Linked DNA regions of Homo sapiens: all the other regions are linked to region 1. Evidence: promoter capture Hi-C in human tissues and cell types (Jung and others, 2019). All regions are on one chromosome and are shown on one strand. The core of a region is centred on a gene start or on the middle of the fragment in contact, and the rest is flanking DNA. Distances in the headings are between cores, read along the strand shown.

Region 1 (2,847 bases), core at 147-2,646:
TGGTGGAGGCTGACCATGGGGGCTGCAGTGATGGTGCTGTGATGGGGGTGTCCAGTGGGGCCTGGGATCCTCAGGCCTCTTAACCTCATCTTCCCCTCCCACAGGCCTGCATGATTCCAGGGAGCATCAAGGCAAGAGACACAGGGAGAAGGAGCAGCCAGTCCCCCTGCCGCAGGACTGGCCACATCTGTCACATCTGGAGAAGTCTGCCCAGAGTGGTTCCCCTGGACTAAGGGCAGATGGCGTTGGGGAAGAGGGAGCTCTTTCTCCTTGCTCCACCCATCAGGATGCCTAAAATAGGAGGCTGAGAGGGGCCTGCCCTGAGGACTGAGCTGCCAGGCTTTCTGCTTCCAAGTTCTTCCCGGCTCCCCATCTCCTCCTGCTTCAGGGAAGTGCACCCCTCACCCCCTCCACGCTGGCTTTCTAGATACTGGAATAAATAATTCAGGTTTTGAAATCTTGCCAGGCCCACCCCTCCGGTGCTGTGAGGGCGCTATTGGGCTGACATGAGTGACGTCACCCAGCTCTTATCCCAGCCCCGGCATCACGGGACTTGCCCTGGCAGCAACTTACCTGCCTGGTCACTGTCAGTCCAGACCCTCTACCCTGTGCCCCTCACCCTGGAGCCCACTCACCACAGCCACCTGCTATCTTCGTTCCAGGGCCCCACAGTCCTCATGGCTTAGCATTGTCGCTTCAGTACCCCAGCCATTCTGACAGGGTAATGGTGACCTGAAGTCACCTGGACACTCCATGTTCCCAGGCCGCTGCCTCTGCCATCCCGGGGTCCCTGAACTCCCCCCTGCTGCATAGTCACCCTGACACTGCCATGGTTGCCCTGAGGGCTTCCCCTCTACCGTTAGCGTCCCACGGCCATCACCCCCCACCCCAAGATTCTGTCACCATGCTAATGTCGTCACTGCCACCCACCTCCCCGCTCCCTCGTGCTCCCTGTCATCGTCACCTCAGGGCCCCATCATCTTGGAAACCCTGTCATTCTCACCAGGGAAGCCCAACCAGCCCCATCACAAGCTCTTCCTTCGTCACCTGGATCTCGTCAGCCTCTCTGCCACCCAAGGGTCCCATCACCCCACAGCCTAGCCGGGCCCCCTTTCCACTCTTCCACCACGTTCCCTGCAGCCTCTCTGAGACTTCAAGGCTCTCGCACCGGCGCCTCTGAAACCCCCGGCCCGCAGAGGGCGCCGCGTCAAGGACAGCGCGGGCGGACTCGGGAGGGGGCGGGGCCGCAGCCACGGTCGCTTTTTATGAATGGGGGAGCGGGCGGTGCGAGGCCTTATTACTATGCCGCGCAACGCGCGCTGCGCCCCAGCGCGCCGCGCCCATTGGCTGATCGGACCGCTGACGTCACCGAACCGGTGGCCGGGGGCGGGGCGGGGTGACTCACGCCGCTTCTCCCGCGGCCGCGGGGGCTTCTCGGGGTCCACGCACGCCCTGCGCCGCCAGGACCCGAGCGGAGCCTCCCCGCGGCCCGGCCGCGCCTGGTCCTGAGCGGTGAGTAGCGGGCCCCGCCGCGGGCACCAGGGGTCCTGAAGGGCACGCAGGATGCTGGGGCACTGGGCCGGCGGAAGGCTCCTAGTGGCCGGCCGGGGTTCGAGTTCGAGGTGGGAATTCTGGGTTTAGGCGATTCTGGGTTAGCAGGCTTGGGCCCAAGTGCTCGAGTGCTGGGGTTGAGTTGGATGACCCGGCGAAGGGTAAGCATTCCTGCAGGGACCCGAGGCCCTGGAGGGACTGATGGTCATCTGAGGTTAAGCCGGCAGGAGGCGTCTGGGGCAGGGACCCAGGGGTCCGAACAGCAGGAGGTGTCCAATTTAGGAATCCAGGTATCCAGGCAGGAGGCAGAGTCAGGCCCAAAATCCAGGTGTCCGGGCAGAAGGAGGCATCTGACTCAGGGATCCAGTCTTCCAGCAGGGGGGTCTGCCCAGAGACCTAGAGATTCAGGCGGAAAGAAGGGTCCAGCCAGGAACAGAAGTCTGGGAGGGTGGGGGGTGGGGGGCTGAGTTCCCAGGTGTTACCGCGGGAGTGCGGGGTGATGGCTGGCGGGAGCTTCACGCGCATTCCCTGGGGGCGGAGTCTAAGGCTGGCAGTACTGAAAATCGTGAGGGGTCTGGGAGCCTCAGGCACGAGCTAGCATCATCATCTCTGATGGGAGGGAGCGGAGCTGCTCAGTCTCCCTGATGGGGTAGATGTTTCCCTACCCCAATCTTGAGCCTTCGGGGGCATCCCCTGGATCCTATGGCCCTCTTCCACTTATAGTACCCCTTCTTCTGTCTCTCCTCTGGTCACACACGTGGGAAAAAGAGACCTGCAGGACCTAGGACAGGGATCCCCAGGAAGAGACCCCTGTTTAGAGGCCTGGGGGCATTGGAGGGGACAGCGGTATCCTGGGAAGAGCCCCAGGGCATGAATGTGGGGATAAGGCATTGGGACCCTATCAGGTATCCTGAGGAGAGACTCCCACCACGTATCCTGAGAAGCACCTCACCCCCTCCAGACCCCAACTCCCATCACCCAGCTTGGTCAGCTTCTCACAAGGCCTTTCTCCTGCAGGTACCATGATGTGGGGTGCAGGCAGCCCTCTGGCCTGGCTCTCAGCTGGCTCAGGCAACGTGAATGTAAGCAGCGTGGGCCCAGCAGAGGGGCCCACAGGTCCAGCCGCACCACTGCCCTCGCCTAAGGCCTGGGATGTGGTGCTCTGCATCTCAGGCACCCTGGTGTCCTGCGAGAATGCGCTAGTGGTGGCCATCATCGTGGGCACTCCTGCCTTCCGTGCCCCCATGTTCCTGCTGGTGGGCAGCCTGGCCGTGGCAGACCTGCTGGCAGGCCTGG
Region 2 (2,847 bases), core at 123-2,622, 370 kb after region 1:
TCCATGACAGACCTCAAGGAGGCTCCCTAGCAACAGCAAATGGAGTTGTCCAGGGTTAGGGTTGGAGACCTGGCTGTTCTGTGGGAATTGCAAGCTTTCTTAAGAAATCTCTATTTTATTACAGTTATCCTTCTTTGTGCGATTGCAGTGGGCTGAATGGAAACACCTGGTTTGTGCTGTGTTAGACTGCATGCTTGAGTGTTTGGGATTTCAAGCTCGCTCTCTTTCTCTCACTATTAGGACTTTTCTTTTTCTTCTTCCTCTTCTCTCTATTTTGGTTCTATTCTTTTTTTTTCTTTTTTCTTTTTTTTTTTTTTTTTTTTTTTGTGGTGGTCACTGCTCAGTGTAATGTGCAGAATGATTTGTTTTTTGTTTTTTTTTTTTTTTTTGGTCCTTCATTGCATCCTGCCATACCCATGAGCAAACAGTTTGGCATTAATTATATATCACTGCCACCCTCTGAACTTTGAAAACTGCCATCTTCAGACTTGGTATAATGGAAGAGGCTTTCTCTCTCCAATAAACCTTTTGCTTCAGGGTATACTCTTCGGTTTTTTTCCAGATGTATTATGTATGAACTTTGTACTATGTATAGCCAGAGTTTTATTTATTTTTTAAAAAAGAAACTTTTTCTTGATAAAGGAATAATGGTGGTCTAGCTAGTTCTTGTAAAAGTGATGCCTCTTGAAAAAAAAACAGTCCTATTCACTAGCTTTTAGTAAAAGAATCAGATCTTTTCTTTCTTGTTACCTTGGAGTCTTAAAAACTGATTGCTAAGGTGAAACAATTCAATGCATAAGTATGGAGCTAAGTGCCTTTTGGAGGATTTCTTGGAAGAGCATTTATGGAGATACTTAAGGGAGGTAGCAAAGATTTGAACCGTCTGTCTTTTTAAGTAAGGGCAGAAAGCAAGGTTGTCCAGGTTGTACTGGACACTTCTCTCCCCACCCCTTTCCTGATTGTTTTATGTGATTGATTTTAAATTCTCACACTGCCACTTCTTTAAAAAATAAAATCCTTTATTTGCTTATATCAGTTGTCATACTGGGCTGCTGTCAGAGAATGTTTTTTTACATGAATGAACAGATTAAAAATGGAATAATATGGTCGGGTGCGGTGGCTCACGCCTGTAATACCAGCAATTTGGGAGGCCAAGGCGGGTGGATCATTTGAGGTTAGGAGTTTGAGACCATCCTGGCCAACATGGTAAAACCCCATCTGTACTAAAAAAATACAAAAATTAGCCGGGCCTGGTGGCATGCACCTGTAATCCCAGCTACCCAGGAGGCTGAGGCAGGAGAACTGCTCGAATCCCGGGAGGCAGAGGTTGCAATGAGCTGAAATCGCAACACTGCACTGCAGCCTGGGCAATGGAGTGAGACTCCGTCTCAAAAAAAAAAAAAAAAGGAATAATATTTGAACTACAGAGCATTTTTGGGGTCAGCATGAGCTGCTCTAGTAAGGACTCTTGAGTCTGGGAAAAGTGGTATCACTATACCTTCTCCCCACTCCTCACCCACCCGAGCCCATACACTCCCTGCTTTTCATGGATATGTATTGAAAACAGGTGCTTCTCAGAAGCACTTTGCCTCAACCAGAGTTATGTATGCCCTGCCTATCTTCCCTTCTTAACCCTGTAGGAATATGGATTTACTTTTCCAGGAAAGGGGATAGATTTACATTTCTAGGCATACTCTCAGGTCCTCTATGTGATGTTTGTGAAAGGAATTAGGGTGTGTCATGTGTGCCATGAAACAACAAAACCAACTACCCTAGAATCATTTATGCAGGGGGTACTAGAGTTAGAAATAATAATGAGGGCAGATAACATTTGTACCTCAGTCTACCAAAAAATTATAGTACTAAATTTAACTTCTAGGCGTTTCCTGGAAGCAGATGCTCTATAATTTGTGATAGCATTCTCATAAATGGAGTCCTACACATAATTGGACAGAGATGTGGAAATGGTGGTTTCCTTCTGATAAGGGATACAGTGGACCATGTCGCTTATATATCACCCTACTAGGGGATATAATTTTCCCTTCTAAGCAAGGGAAATGGCAGTGCTAAATAGTTTTGTAAAGTTTTTGAATGAGAAGCTTTTAGGTAAAGATAAACTGTCATAATATTTTTCAGATGCATTTGCATTGACTATGGGAGAAAAATTAGGGGGAAATGACAGTCATGGTGTTTTTTTTTAATTTTAAGGACTGAAATTCTGTTACATGATGTATGACAATATAAAAACATACTTAGTTTTATACTAAATCTTTTTTTAAGGTCTTGGCATTTAATATAAAGCAAATTCACACGTTTTCTAACTTTCCATAAGTTCCAAAAAGGGAAAGAAGAAACCTCAGTCTTGAAATTTTGATTTTTAAAAATCATGACACTGTTTTACCATGAAATTGAGTAGCTAACTTTTGGTAACACCTTTTGTTTCTTTGTATGTTTGTAATAATGGACATTTTAAAACACAGGAATGTTTTGGTTTGTACAGACTTTGACAAATGTGTGTTAATAAAAATTCATATTGACTCAAGTGTAATTGTTGGATTTTGTTTTTATTTCTTGCTGTTTACCAGTAGACATACCCCGTTATCCCCTTCAGCCCTTCAGCCTAGAAAAGTTTGTCTTGCTTATAGACTTAAAAAATTAAAAGCCTAACTGCTAATTGGGAATTTCCTGTCCATTAGAGAATAAACTCTTTCTTTCTCTCTTCTATGACTGTTTTGAGACAGAGTCTCACTCAGTCATCCAGGCTGGAGTACAGTGGCAAGTAGATCACTGCAGCCCCGACTTCCTGGGGATTCTCCCACCTCAGCCTCCCAAGTAGCTGGGACTACA
Region 3 (2,847 bases), core at 128-2,627, 260 kb before region 1:
TGTTGAGCTAGCAGAACTGTTTGAGGGCAGAAGTCATGTCTGGTTTAACTTTTTTTCCTTCCCTTTTGTGTATATATTTTTGGGTTTAACTTAATCTCCAGTGTTTGGCACTAAGCACATGGACACTAAGCTCCAGCTGAATTGGCCTTTTCCTTGAAGGAAGGGTGAGAGTTAGGCACCAAGAAGGCCTGGCAGGCAAATCAGCAGCATCTGGAAAGACAGGACAGGGAAACGAGTGTGGTACAGGTAGAAGATTTATTTTTTGCGGGGGGAGGGGGCAGGGAAAACAGAGTCTGGCTGTGTTGCCCAGGCTGGAGTGCAGTGGTACGAACATGGCTCACTGCAGCCTTGACTTCCTGGGCTCAAGTGATTCTCTCACCTCAGCCCCCCATGTAACTGGGACTACAGGCGCGTGCCACCATGCCTAGCTAGTTTTTGTATTTTTTGTAGAGATAGGGGTTTTGCCATGTTGCCCAGGCTGGTCTCAAACTCCTGAGCTCAAGAGATCTGCCTGCTTTGCCTCCCAAAGTGCTGAGATTACAGGCGTGAGCCACTGAGCCCAGCCCAGGTAGAGGCTTTCTATTGGAGCAAATGGCAGTGGACTGGAGTGGAAATCATTACTTAGATGCTGTAAAGCAGACTTTTCTCTCGCCCTCACAACATGCCCTGGCAGTGGGCAACAGATGAGAGAACAGACATTGAGAGAGGTCCAGACACAGGCCCAAGATCACATGGGTAGCAGCGGAGGCAGGTCCCAAACCCAGAACTACTGACTCCCAATCCAGCGCTCAGCCAAGGCCAGTTATGAAAGGCCACAAATACCCTGCAGGGAGAGAATTCCCAATCACCCTGCTGAGCCAGGCAGAGCCACTGGAGGGCTCTGGCCTGGGGAACAACATGAAATTCTGCCACTTCAGGGAGGTGGTCAAGGGAGACAGCGCTGGCCACCCAGGCTCAGCACCTGGCATAGGGCAAAGTTGTCCAAATGCACAGCCATTTAGTCTCAGCTCCAGGGACAGCTGGCACTGCCTCCTGCACAATACCAGCAGGATGGGTGAGCACCCCCTCCATCCTACCTCCAAATGCCTCAAAAGACCAGAAAACTACAATTCTGAGAAAAGAAAGGCCTGAGTCAAGCCCAGGCTGGGGATCAGGGGAACTGGGCTTCAGTCTAGACTCAGCCACTAACATTCTGTGGGCTTTGAACAAGCCGTTGCTTCTCTTTGGTCTCAGTCTCTCCATCCTTGGGGGCTTGTTGAGAGCCTCTCTACCTCTGACATCTGACTGATGAACTCTGCAGCTGGACAAAGTCGGGCTCTGTGATACTCACCATCTCTGTCCATGCCAGCAACTGTGGCATCTGGGTACAGAATAGCATTCGTGCCATAGCAAGCTTGCACGAGGCAGCAGCGGGCAGCGTAAAGAGCTCTGGTCCATCAATGAGGGAGGTAGTTTCTGTCCCAATTCTAAATCTTAACTTCTCTGTGACCTAATAAGGCAAATCACGGTACTGCCCTGAACCTCAGTTTCTTCCTTTCTAACATTGGGATAAAGAATGTCTATGGCACAGCGTTGCTGTAAGAGGAGAGAACAGAGACAGAAACACTCAGAAAAAAGCAAAAACAAAAATATATGCCCAGGCCAGGGGAGGTGGCTCACACCTGAATCCCAGCAGCGGGGGAGGCCGAGGCGAGAGGATCACTTGAGCCCAGGAGTTTGAGAGCAGCCTGGGTAACGTGGCAAAACCCATCTCTACAAAAAATTTAAAAATTAGTTGGGCATGGCTGGTGCATACCTGTAGTCCCAGCTACTAGGGAGGCTGAGGTGGGAGGATCACCTGAGCCCGGGAGGTTGAGGTTTCAGTGAGCCGAGATCATGCCAACTGCACTCTATCCTGGGCAACAGGGTGAGACCCTGTCTTTAAAAAAAAAAAAAAAAAAGGCCAGGCGTGGTGGCTCATGCCTATAATCCCAGCACTTTGAGACGCCAAGGCGGGCGGATCACCTGAGGTCAGGAGTTTGAGACCAGCCTGGCCAACATGGTGAAACCCCATCTCTATTAAAAATACAAAATTAGCCGGGCGTAGTGGTGCATGCCTGTAATCCCAGCTACTTGGGAGGCTGAGGCAGGAGAATCACTTGAACCCAGGAGGTGGAGGTTGCAGTGAGCCGAGATCCTCACGCCATTGCACTCCAGCCTGGGCAAAAAGAGGGAAACTCCATAAACAAACAAACAAACAAACAAACAAATGCATGCACGCACGCACGCATGCCAGACACTCCCGTGCAGATCTAGATTCCCAGAAACCAGCAGCGGCAGGGTCCCAGAGGCAAGCTGGCAGCACTAGGGAGGCAAGAGCTTCTCCTAAACAGGCACCTGAGGGGGAAGCTGTCCAACTGCACAGCATTAAGGCTCCATGGGCAGCAGGCACTGCCTCCTGCACAATACCAGCAAGATGGGTGAGCTTTCCTGATACTGGATCCTCTATCTCAAGGGGGTCCCCTAAGGGTCTCCCATACACTTCTGATAACGATCCAGCTGGCTGGGCTCTGTGTGGTGGGAGAGACAGGGCATGCTTGGAGGGCCTCTCCCTGCCTCCTCTCCCACCACACTGGGGATAGTTTGTCACTTCAGGCCTCTAGGAGCCACGAGATGTAGAGTGGATAGGAGAACTGAGCATGCTCAGAGGAGGCTGCCCTTTAGAGGACACTGCAGAGAAAAGATGAGGACACGGCCAGCTGCAGGGCTTGGTCCTGGTGCCAGGAAGGCCCAGGGCTCTAGAAACAGCAATGGGAGGTCAGCTCTCTCCTGTGGGAGAAGAGGGGCAGCAAGAAGTCAGAGATTAGA

Evidence for each region. The method cuts DNA at HindIII sites, captures the fragments that hold promoters and counts their contacts. A contact is called where the count stands out against the background at its distance.
Region 2: a fragment that was not itself captured here is called in contact with the fragment with the promoter of GPR3 in region 1 in 3 of the 25 tissues and cell types used here (dorsolateral prefrontal cortex, hippocampus and lymphoblastoid cells).
Region 3: a contact is called between a fragment that was not itself captured here and the fragment with the promoter of GPR3 in region 1, in 3 of the 25 tissues and cell types used here (liver, mesenchymal stem cells and spleen).

What each region holds. Positions count from the first base shown.
Region 1 is chr1:27,391,226-27,394,072 of GRCh38, forward strand. GPR3 (G protein-coupled receptor 3) reads left to right here and starts at 1,397. Exons shown (of 2, transcript NM_005281.4): 1 at 1,397-1,512; 2 at 2,569-2,847. The coding sequence starts at 2,574. RefSeq lists enhancers at 13-549, 550-1,086, 1,624-2,159 and a silencer at 1,101-1,600. The HindIII fragment of the contact is 10,052 bases long and covers 1-2,847 here.
Region 2 is chr1:27,760,575-27,763,421 of GRCh38, forward strand. FAM76A (family with sequence similarity 76 member A) reads left to right here. Exons shown (of 9, transcript NM_152660.3): 9 at 1-2,542. The coding sequence ends at 7. Among named protein-coding and RNA genes, the nearest start is that of STX12, 11 kb to the right of the region's middle. The HindIII fragment of the contact is 6,157 bases long and covers 1-2,847 here.
Region 3 is chr1:27,126,736-27,129,582 of GRCh38, forward strand. The region is part of intron 1 of SLC9A1 (solute carrier family 9 member A1); the gene reads right to left. Among named protein-coding and RNA genes, the nearest start is that of SLC9A1, 27 kb to the right of the region's middle. The HindIII fragment of the contact is 6,234 bases long and covers 1-2,847 here.